3 separate regions of the Homo sapiens genome follow, and all the other regions are linked to region 1. The links are contacts of gene promoters, found by promoter capture Hi-C in human tissues and cell types (Jung and others, 2019). All regions are on one chromosome and are shown on one strand. The core of a region is centred on a gene start or on the middle of the fragment in contact, and the rest is flanking DNA. Distances in the headings are between cores, read along the strand shown.

Region 1 (3,409 bases), core at 398-2,897:
AGTACTGCCCTGGAATGAAAGGTTTTAGGCTATGTTGGACTCACTGAAAAAAGAAAGGTTAGTCTCATTAGAAAGTTTACCTGGCTCTAAGAAAATAATTACTTATCTGCTAACACAACTTCCATAGCAATGAAACAAGTTCCTGTAAGTATAAATTATCACAATTCCAAGCAGACAAAAATCTGTGTCTCCTGAACACATTATAGGGGTCAGCCTATAGATAACTCCATTATAGGGGTCCTCCTAAAGATAACCTAAGTTATCTTGCATATTGTGTCTGCAGTGTCCACAATGAGTTGGTCTGTATTCACACTGGATGATACAGGATTTCTCCACCAGGTCCTCTCACAGGACTCCAGGCATTTTTACAACTTGACCACACAAAAGAACACTCAGGCTGCTCCTCCCTTGCTCAAGGGAAGTACAGTAATGCCTCTCTCCGTAGCCCTTTCATAAGACTGTGCATAGATAAACACAGGTGTATACATAGCAATCTTTATGAACTTTGCATTGAATGTGTCAAAGAACAGTGGCGGTCCCAACATTCCATCCATTGTCTCAATCAGGAAAGCTACTCCTGAGACCTCAGGAAAGAGGAGGAAAAAATTCAAGTAACACATATGTTTACGAAACACTTCAGTAACAAAACAAAATACTTGTATTGGAGAGAAAATATATATATTTTTAATCACAAGGCATAGAAAGTAAAAATAATCAGCCTTAATTAGGTTTCCTTCATTAGTTGACAATGTAAATGGACTGAAACTACTACTCAAATATTCAAACCTTCATTTTACATGCAAGTGGCTTCCAGAAAATGATAAAGCAATATTCCCATGTGAGTGTGAAAGATGGCAATGAATTCTGGCCCATTATAAAGGAAGAGTCAGATTCCACTAGTCACTGCTTCGTTTAACTGCCAGGCTTTTAGGGAGCTATTTAATAAAAGGGGTCTCGCCCTAATAAATTGTGAGCGGTGTAAATAGGTGAGTGGTGTAAATATCTGAAATAGCCTGCACTCAATGAGGCTGTAGACCGCTTGGGGTTCACAGACTTTACAAAAATCATTCCGTAAAAAAATTACGTAGTGACAATCCTACCATTTAAAAAGAATAATGATGGTGATAATAATAGCTGGACAGGATCCTCCACTGCTGCCTGCTTCCCACATAAGTTGCCCAGCTGAAGGTGGTTAAGTTAAAGCCAGTTCTCTCCCCATTAGAGATGCGGGCTGGCAGCTGGCGGGGGAAGTCACCCAGTTTCCAGCTCCCCGTGGGTTTGACGGGACTGGGATTGCAACTGGGAACTAACTGGCTTGTAGGAAGCCCAGGTGGCTCAGACAGGGCTCGAGCTGTCCCCTCACCACCTTCCTCCCACGCAGACACCAAGTTAGATACGCAACTCCACGAGCACAATGACAAGAAGGCACACAAAAGGAGCAAGGCAGCCGCTCCCATCCTTACCTTTGACTTGACTTTCATACTCGGCTATGATCTCTTTGTCCTTCTTGAATCGGCTCGGGGTGGACATTATCCAGCTGTTCCGGGTTTGCTTTCAATGGGCAAGTTTTGTTCAGTGGTCACAACCCGTTCTCCTTGGAGAGGCAGAGTTGTACTCCCACACGCAGGCAATCCAGAGGCAGCGCCGACCCGAGGGAAGGGAGGAGGGAGAGGAGAAGTAGGAGGAGGAGGGGAAAAAGAGCGAGTAGAGAGGACTAGATTAGCCCGGGCGCTGGCACCATACTCTCGAAATTGAGCTCCGTCGGTAATCCCAGGGGATCCCCGGGGGAGAGGCCGGACGCGCAGGCAAACTCCAGCCAGCGAGTGGCGGGGGACGTCTCCCTGCCCACCTCGCCGGGAGCCCGGCCACTTCCTCTACGGCCGCTGGGCGGGCGCGGGGCTCGCGCCGGCGCTCCGCACCATTGTTCGAGACCCGCACCGGGCGCCCGGGACAGGGCCAGCGGCGGAGGGCAGGCGCTGGGAACGCGCCCAGCTCGGGCGCCACAACCCTCCCTTCCTGCCTCCAGCTGTCGGCTCCGGCGCTCAAGGGTCCCGCCCGGGCTGGGGATGCTGCTGCCACGGCCGCCGCTCCTCTGCCCGCAGACACTGCCGCTACAGCTCGGCAGGCGAAAGGAATCGCAGTCCTGACGCGAGTCCCCGCTGCTGCTGAGAGGGTGAAGGCGGCGACGCTCAGACGCGCCCTGGGCACAGCCCCGGCGGAGTTTAGGTCTCCAGAGCCGGCGCCGCGAGGGGCCTCTGCCTCCCTGGCCGCGGTGCGCCGAGGCTGCCTTTCTCTGCGTCCCCCTTTCCGCTGCTGCCCCCAGGAGGCCGCTAGTGACAGGCACACTCGCACACGCACGCGGGAGCCGCGCCCCCGGCGGCAGCAAAGTTGAGGGTGCGCACACGGCTCGCGCCTCGCGGGCGCCCGGCTAGCGATCTGCGGGCGGTGGCTCCTCGGGGCTCCGCCAGGCGGGGCCAGGCTCGCGGGAGCGGACCGCGCTCCGGCCTGTGCCCTTCTCCGTCCAAGCTCCCGCCCCTGCTCCGCTAGGAAACGCCTGGCTGGTCCGGGAAGATGGATGCCTCTTGTGGCCAACCGCAGCCCGGCCCCGCGCGCCGAGCCCAGGAGGCCGTGGGCGGCGCCCCCGGCACCTCCCTCCGCCGAGGCCCCGCACCTCCCTCCGCCGAAGCCCCGCTCCACCGCTAGCCGAGGTCGCGGCTCCGGCGGCAGGAAAACCCCTTCCTGACCTGAGGGACCGCCTTCTGGCTCTGGCGGGGGCTCTGGTGGGGCTTTTGCCAGAATCTAATGGGGAAGTCCAGAGTTGGATGTATCCATGACACAAAGGGATGTTACTCCGAGACGCTGGACCCCAATAGAAAAACTGAACACTGAATTGTGAATGACCTGGCTGTTAATCCAAAGAGCGCGAAGCTCTTCAATCGAGGCGGAGAAAAACACCCACCTTGAACACCATATCCTCTATTCCTACAGTAGATAGGGAAGCTAGGATGGTAGGAAAGCGATGGTATGGAAACACGTCACACTTAACGGCGTTGTTAGCTTATTTATTTACTAAACTCCAGATTTTATTCCAATTTTACCAATTTTTTCGACTAGTGTCATTTTTTCTGTTCCAAGATCCAACACAGGACACTACATTGCACTTAGTACTTTTACGGTTGTTTTTGTTTTTGTTTTTTGATTTTGTTTTTTGGGGGTTTTTTTTGAGACGGGGTCTCACTCTCGCCCAGGCTGGAGTGCAGGGGCACGAGCTCCGCTCACTGCAACCTCCGCCTCCCGGGTTCAAGTGATTCTCCTGGCTCAGCCTCCAGAGTAGGTGTGACTACAGGCGCCCGCCACCGTGCCTGGGTAATTTTTGTATCTTTAGTAGAAACAGGGTTTTGCCATGTTG
Region 2 (3,409 bases), core at 560-3,059, 230 kb before region 1:
GATAGATGATTTTTTTTAGTTGTGGGCTATTTTGAATAATGCTGCTATAAACACATTTTTGTTTAGTCACACATATATGAATAGAATTGCTGCTTAACTGTTTTCCAAAATGATTGTAATTTACATTCTCACCAGCAGAGTGGAAGAATCCCTGCTATTCCACATCCTCATCAACAGTTGGTATTGTCAGTCTTTCTTTTAAATTTAAACAATTGTGTTGGGTGTGCAGTGGTATCTCACTGTGGTTTGAATATGCATTTCCCTGATATATGAGATTGAGCACATTATCATATGTTTAAGGCAATTTGGATCTCCTTAATTGAGAACACTTTGTTAAAATCTCTTGCTCCATTTTCTAAGTTATGAGTCTTTTTCTTAATGATTTGTTGAGATGGATATGAGTCTTTTTGTAGTTGTATGTGTTGCAAATATTTTTCCCCACTGTGCTGTGGTTTTTCCCTCTTTCAATAGTGTCCAGATGAACAAAGATTCTAATTTTAATATAATGCATTTATCAATTCTTTCCTTTTAGTGTTTTTTGTGTCCTATTTAAGAAATATTTTCCTATCTCATAGCCATAAAGATACTGCTTTATGTTATCTGTTAGGAGCTTATTTATTTATTAATCTCCTAGTAGTCTTTTTATTCACTGAAGGTCATATTCTACCTTTGCTTATCAAAGTATAATGTAAATTGATAGCTTTTTCCTTCTGTCACACAATGTAAAGAGTTTAGAACACCTTAACTTCATTTACTCCTCCTGATTTATATGCTATTTTTGTAATATATTATAATAGAATATATATAAATATTAATATATAAATTTAAGACATTATTATTTTATGTAGTCAAGATTCACTTAGCATCACCCATGTATTTATTACATTCTTTGATGTCGAGTGCTTATATTTTAAGTGTACCCTTTAGAAGTTCTTTTTAGTATGTGTCTGTTTTGTTGACTTGACAACGTCTTTTATTTCACCTTCATTTACTAAATATCTTTTTCTGTGCAGCAGTTATTTTCTTTTTGTATATTAGAAATATATCACTGTACTTTGTTGTGGCTTCTATGTTCCTGTTGAGTGAGAAGGTTACCATCAGTCTGTCATTGCTTTGAATAAAATCTGCTTTCTTTTTCCAGCTGCTTTAAAAATTTTCCATTCATCTTTGGGTTTCTACAATTTCACTGTAATATATCTAGGTAAGGATTTAAAAAATATATTCTGCCTGGAATTTCTTGGACTGCTTGAATTTGTGTGATGTTTTTCATAGGTTTTAGTAAGTTTGCAGCTTTTATCTTTTCAAATATTGACTCTATATTCTTTAATTTTTCTTTCTGAGCGGGGCGTGGTGACTCACACCTGTAATCCCAGCACTTTGGGAGGCTGAGGCGGTGGATCGCTTGAGGTCAGGAGTTCGAGACCAGCCTGGCCAATATGGTGAAACCCTGTCTCTACTAAAAATACAAAATAGCTGGGCGTGGTGGTATGTGCCTGTAATCCAGCTACTCGGGAAGCTGAGTCAGAAGAATTGCCTGAACCCAGGAGGCAGAGGGTGCAGTGAGCTGAGATCGTGCCACTGCACTCCAGCCTGGGCGAAAAAGTGAGACTCTGTCTCAAAAAAAAAAATTTTTTTTTCTTTCTGGGAGTTCAATTAGTATATTAGACATTACTGTGTTCTCTATATCTCTTATTCTTCTTTTCCATATTTTATTATCTTTTGTTTTTGATGCTGCGTTTTTATTATTTCTTCTGATTTGTCTGCTTTCATGATTTATTTTTTAGCTCTACCTGATGTTAAACTCACCCACTGCTTTCTTAATTTTGGTTATTTCTCAGTGCTAGAATTCCTATGTAGCTCATTTTCAAATCTGTTATTTTAGTGCTTATGATTTCCTGATGAAATCTAAGCTTGGCTTTTAAAAACCTCCTTGAACATTGTAAATAGTTCTTTTGTCATTTATTTCTGATAATCCCAATATCTGGAGTTCCTGTGGGTGTGTCTCTATTGTCTATTATTTCTTCTGGCTATCACTCATGGTTTCTTATCTCCTCATTGTCTAATTATCTTTGCTAGATATTTTTTGTAGAGTTACTTGAGGTCAAAGGTGAGGTTATCCTCCAAAGAGAATGTTTATTTTCCCAAACCATTAGGGGCACTAATAGCTCAGAATCTCTGGATTTTATTACTGTTCAAAATATTGGATGCTCTTCCTTTTGGGAAGATATGGTTCCCTGTGTCACAGGTTTCAGGCTTGGCCATGCATCTTGTCCTAGAAAATGAACTTTGAAAGAATCAGTTGAGTGACCCAGTCCATCATTACAGGAAGTGGAAATCTTTTCAATTACTTTTTTTTTTTTTTGAACAAAATAATGTTTGGGAAAGAAACAGTAGCAATTAGTACTAGTTTGGATGCTTAGAAGGTCATGTGATGGAATTAATATTAAAAAAAGAAGGGAAAGAAATTTAATAGACAATAATCATTCCTGGGGTTATGCACAATGCAAAGAGTAGATACTGTTGGAAAAAAAGCATATTAATGACCATTAAAAATACTGTAATTAATTACTTTAAGGAGGTCATAATCAAATATCTATAGACTGAATTAAAAGAGTCACCATCCTACACTAGTCAAATAGGCTCTTGTAGCTTGTAGACAAATTTCTAATGACAGTATCACGCACAGGTTTTAAAAGCACTGTATTTCAAACAAACAGATGTGAAGATGGTATACTCTGAGAAAAGTGTACTTGATGACTCTGTTGGGAACAAGCCCCCCAAAATCTGGCCATAAACTGGCCCCAAAACTGGCCATAAACAAAATCCCTGCAGCACTGTGACATGTTCATGATGGCCATAACACCCACACTGGAAGGTTGTGGGTTTACCGCAAGAGGGCAAGGAACACCTGGCCCGCCCAAGTCGGAAAACTGCTTAAAGGCATTCTTAAGCCACAAACAATAGCATGAGCGATCTGTGCCTTAAGGACATGCTCCTGCTGCAGTTAACTAGCCCAACCTATTCCTTTAATTCGGCCCATCCCTTCGTTTCCCATAAGGGATACTTTTAGTTAATCGAATATCTATAGAAACAATGCTAATGACTGGCTTGCTGTTAATAAATATGTGGGTAAATCTCTGTTTGGGGCTCTCAGCTCTGAAGGCTGTGAGACCCCTGATTTCCTACTTCACACCTCTATATTTCTGTGCGTGTGTCTTTAATTTCTCTAGCGCCGCTGGGTTAGGGTCTCCCCGACCGAGGTGGTCTCGGCAGACTCAAAATGTGGCTCTGGTAATGACAAACACAATATCAGGATATATGAAGAGCCTTCATAAAATTGTGAAAATGAGAAAAATATAGTATTTCTAAATTAAAAGTTTTATATAATGTGATTTAAAATATTTGTGCA
Region 3 (3,409 bases), core at 286-2,785, 210 kb before region 1:
CTTTTCCTAATTGAATACCCTTTATTTCCTTCTCCTGCCTAATTGCCCTGGCCAGAACTTCCAACCGCATATTCTCACTCATAGTTGGGAATTGAACAATGAGCTCACATGGACACAGGAAGGGGAATATCACACTCTGGGGACTGTGGTGGGGTGGGGGGAGGGGGGAGGGATAGCATTGGGAGATATACCTAATGCTAGATGACAAGTTAGTGGGTGCAGTGCACCAGCATGGCACATGTATACATATGTAACTAACCTGCACAATGTGCACATGTACCCTAAAACTTAAAGTATAATAATAAAAGAAAAAAAAACTTAAAACAAAACAAAACAAAAAAAGCCAACTACTTCAGTCATCCAACTCATTTCAGTTTTTAAATACCCTTTCTATCACAAAGGGATAAAACCATGCCTAAATCAGTTTACATTATCTCTACAATATCCTAACCCATTTAACATGATCTCTCCATAATCTTCCTAATAGGAGTTCATGTCTAATGGGGAATACAGTACTACAATGGGACAGGTTTCCATGGACAAATCTTAATACCGTTATATGGGGGAAAAGTCAAACTAAGAAAACTCTGAACTCTGAATAAGTTGCTTTTTAATTAAACACATGTCCCAAGACACAAAAAAGATAAGGCTAAAAGCTTTAACGTAGCTGATTATTCAGAAAAGATAAAAAAGGATGGCAGGCAATATATGATGTAATCTAATTTCAATCTTATTCTGCATAAATGGCCAATAAAACACATGTGACAGATAATCTCTATGAAGAAAACTGGCTGGAGTAGGGGATTATTCCTTGGCAATATTCCATAATTATAATAACAAAGATTTATCTTTCACGCTTTCAACCAACCTGCAAATGTTTATAGGGAGAAACTGGAGACCATGAAACTGTACTGCAAGGATGACAAATACTTTATTATTACTGGGCAGGTGCTCTGGGAGAAAGCACGGATAGAATTTTATTGTTGAGGACTGAGTTTCTCTGAATACATTTTGAAGGTGTGGAACTGAACTGGAAGAGGCTACATTATCAGTAATGCAATTTTAAAACCAGTTGCTTTAAGAATTCCATATTTTCAGTGTGTTGAATCTGATTATAGATCAGAGGATCCTAGCATTAAGACTTGTACTCTAATTCTTTTCTCTTAGCAAATCATAATCTTTTGGAACTCTCAGCATTCAATTACAAATATTTGTTGCCTGTTATGATTTTTCTTCTAGTTGTAACACATCCTAATTCTTACAGGATAATAAGTTATAGGCTCTTTTGCACTTAATATTGGGGATAATAATTATCACTGATATTTAAACTATTATTTACAAACACTACAATCTATTTTCCTCTACAATGATACCTTTATTCTCCCAACCAATTAAACTTCCTTTGGCCAATATTTGCAATATATTTATTCTTACAATTTATATTTATTCTTTAGCATGACATAATAAAAGTCCTTATTTGTTGTGAAATTAACAGTGTATTCCACTTCCCACTTGATTCCAAGCTAAGAGATTGTTATTTTACAAATTAAAATTTATTTAGGACTTTCTTCAGAGACAGAGGAGAAGCACTCTTAAAAGTCTTCTGTTTTAAGTGATACTCCAGGTTAACTAACACTTGCTTCATTTTATAAATCAGGATCCGCAAACTAGAGCCTATGAGCCAAATCCAGCCCGCAGCTTGGTAAGGTAAAGAAAGTCTGACTGCAATACAACCACACCCGTTTGCTTACTTATTATCTATGGCTACTTTTGCACTAGAGTTGAGTAGCTGTGACACAGACAATATGGGCTCACAAACCCTAAAATATTTACCATCTGGCCCCTTACAGAAAATGTTTATCCACCCTTGCTCTCAAGCATAGTGACCAATGCCAAAGGCAATGTGAACACACACAGCCAGTAGGTGCTCTCTAATACTCCTCTACATTTCTGCTCCAACAATTCATCTGTATGCCTCCAAGAACAGACTGTACAATATTTGTGCCATTTATATTTATAACTATAATTTAATTACCTATGAAATAAACTGATAAAATAAGTCTAAAAAATTGTTGGAAAGACTCAGGAGTAAACAAAATTGCTATTAGGTGAGGCAAAGGTATAACAACTGTGCAAGATTGTGAAAACGTTGTACATGTCCAGAATATTTTTTCTTCATGAAAAAACCCTCAAAACTAGAAATTATAAATGATACACAACGAAAGTGATTTGTGTAAAGAAAGATTACTCTGAACTCTGTACAACAGATAAATCATTAAAAGTATATAATGCATAGTAAAAACAAAGAACAAAAAGATAAATCATAATATTAAAAGATTGGCAGGTACAAGTATATTGGTGAGCTTTAGATTAAACATATTTAAGGCATATATCTATCATTTTACTAATTCCATGCTTTTTCTTTTTTAAATATAAAATATGCCATACTTACAGAAAAGTACAAAACATATACGTTTATTTTGTTTTTTTTTTTGAGACTGACTTTTCTTCTTGTCGCCTAGGCTGGAGTACAATGGCGCAATCTTGGCTCACTGCAACATCCACCTCCCAGGTTCAAGCGATTCTCCTGCCTCAGCCTCCTGAGTAGCTGGGATTATAGGCACCCACCACCACGCCTGGCTAATGTTTTTGTATTTTTAGTAGAGACAGGGTTTCACCATGTTGGTCAGCTGGTCTCGAACTTCTGACCTCAGGTGATCTGCCTGCCTCAGCCTCCCGAAGTGCTGGGATTACAGGTGTGAGCCACCGTGCCCAGGTTATGTTCCTTTTAATGTTACTGATATTTCAGAAGTTCTCCAAGTTCCCCCTCCCCAGTCACAGTTCCTTCCCTTCTCCATAGACATAATTCAATATCTGGAGTACCCACAAGTGTCCAACCCTTGTTTGGTATACTACATTCAAATATTTTCAGCTGAAATAAAAGAATAGATACTTGGTTAACAATTGAGCCATTTTCTTCATTGTATTACCATCAATATCAATAAACGTTAGAGTTCTGATATCTAATATTTTTAACTTGGACTTGATCAAGAAATTAATTTTTACCTACTAAGTTTATGAAGGAGTCATGTTCAGTGATGGAACTCATCATAATGTTCATTCATTGATCCTAACAAGGCACAATTAAGTATGTAAGATTTACTAAAAATACATTTCAGTAGACCTCCAAAAACCATTATTTATAAATGATTAGAGATTTTCTACATTGGCAGCAATTTCTCAGAGAGATACAGAGAAAAAGAGAGAGAGACAGAGAGAGAAAGAGAGAATGCACTTTAGTAATTCAAACTAATATTGATAGGTAAAGGTTATCTCAAACAGATAAAAATTGAGAATTATTAAATATTTTTAAAACCATTAGATCACCTCTAAATATATAGAAAAGACA

Evidence for each region. The method cuts DNA at HindIII sites, captures the fragments that hold promoters and counts their contacts. A contact is called where the count stands out against the background at its distance.
Region 2: a contact is called between a fragment that was not itself captured here and the fragment with the promoter of SRGAP1 in region 1, in 1 of the 25 tissues and cell types used here (hippocampus).
Region 3: a fragment that was not itself captured here is called in contact with the fragment with the promoter of SRGAP1 in region 1 in 1 of the 25 tissues and cell types used here (dorsolateral prefrontal cortex).

Annotation. Positions count from the first base shown.
Region 1 is chr12:63,842,938-63,846,346 of GRCh38, reverse strand. It overlaps SRGAP1 (SLIT-ROBO Rho GTPase activating protein 1), which reads right to left and starts at 1,647. Exons shown (of 22, transcript NM_020762.4): 1 at 1,464-1,647. The coding sequence starts at 1,530. RefSeq lists silencers at 1,805-2,064, 2,175-2,234, 2,295-2,714 and enhancers at 1,641-2,140, 2,141-2,642. The HindIII fragment of the contact is 18,473 bases long and covers 1-3,409 here.
Region 2 is chr12:64,074,873-64,078,281 of GRCh38, reverse strand. The region is part of intron 8 of SRGAP1 (SLIT-ROBO Rho GTPase activating protein 1); the gene reads right to left. Among named protein-coding and RNA genes, the nearest start is that of KICS2, 150 kb to the left of the region's middle. The HindIII fragment of the contact is 7,857 bases long and covers 1-3,409 here.
Region 3 is chr12:64,051,641-64,055,049 of GRCh38, reverse strand. The region is part of intron 6 of SRGAP1 (SLIT-ROBO Rho GTPase activating protein 1); the gene reads right to left. Among named protein-coding and RNA genes, the nearest start is that of KICS2, 170 kb to the left of the region's middle. The HindIII fragment of the contact is 3,643 bases long and covers 1-3,356 here.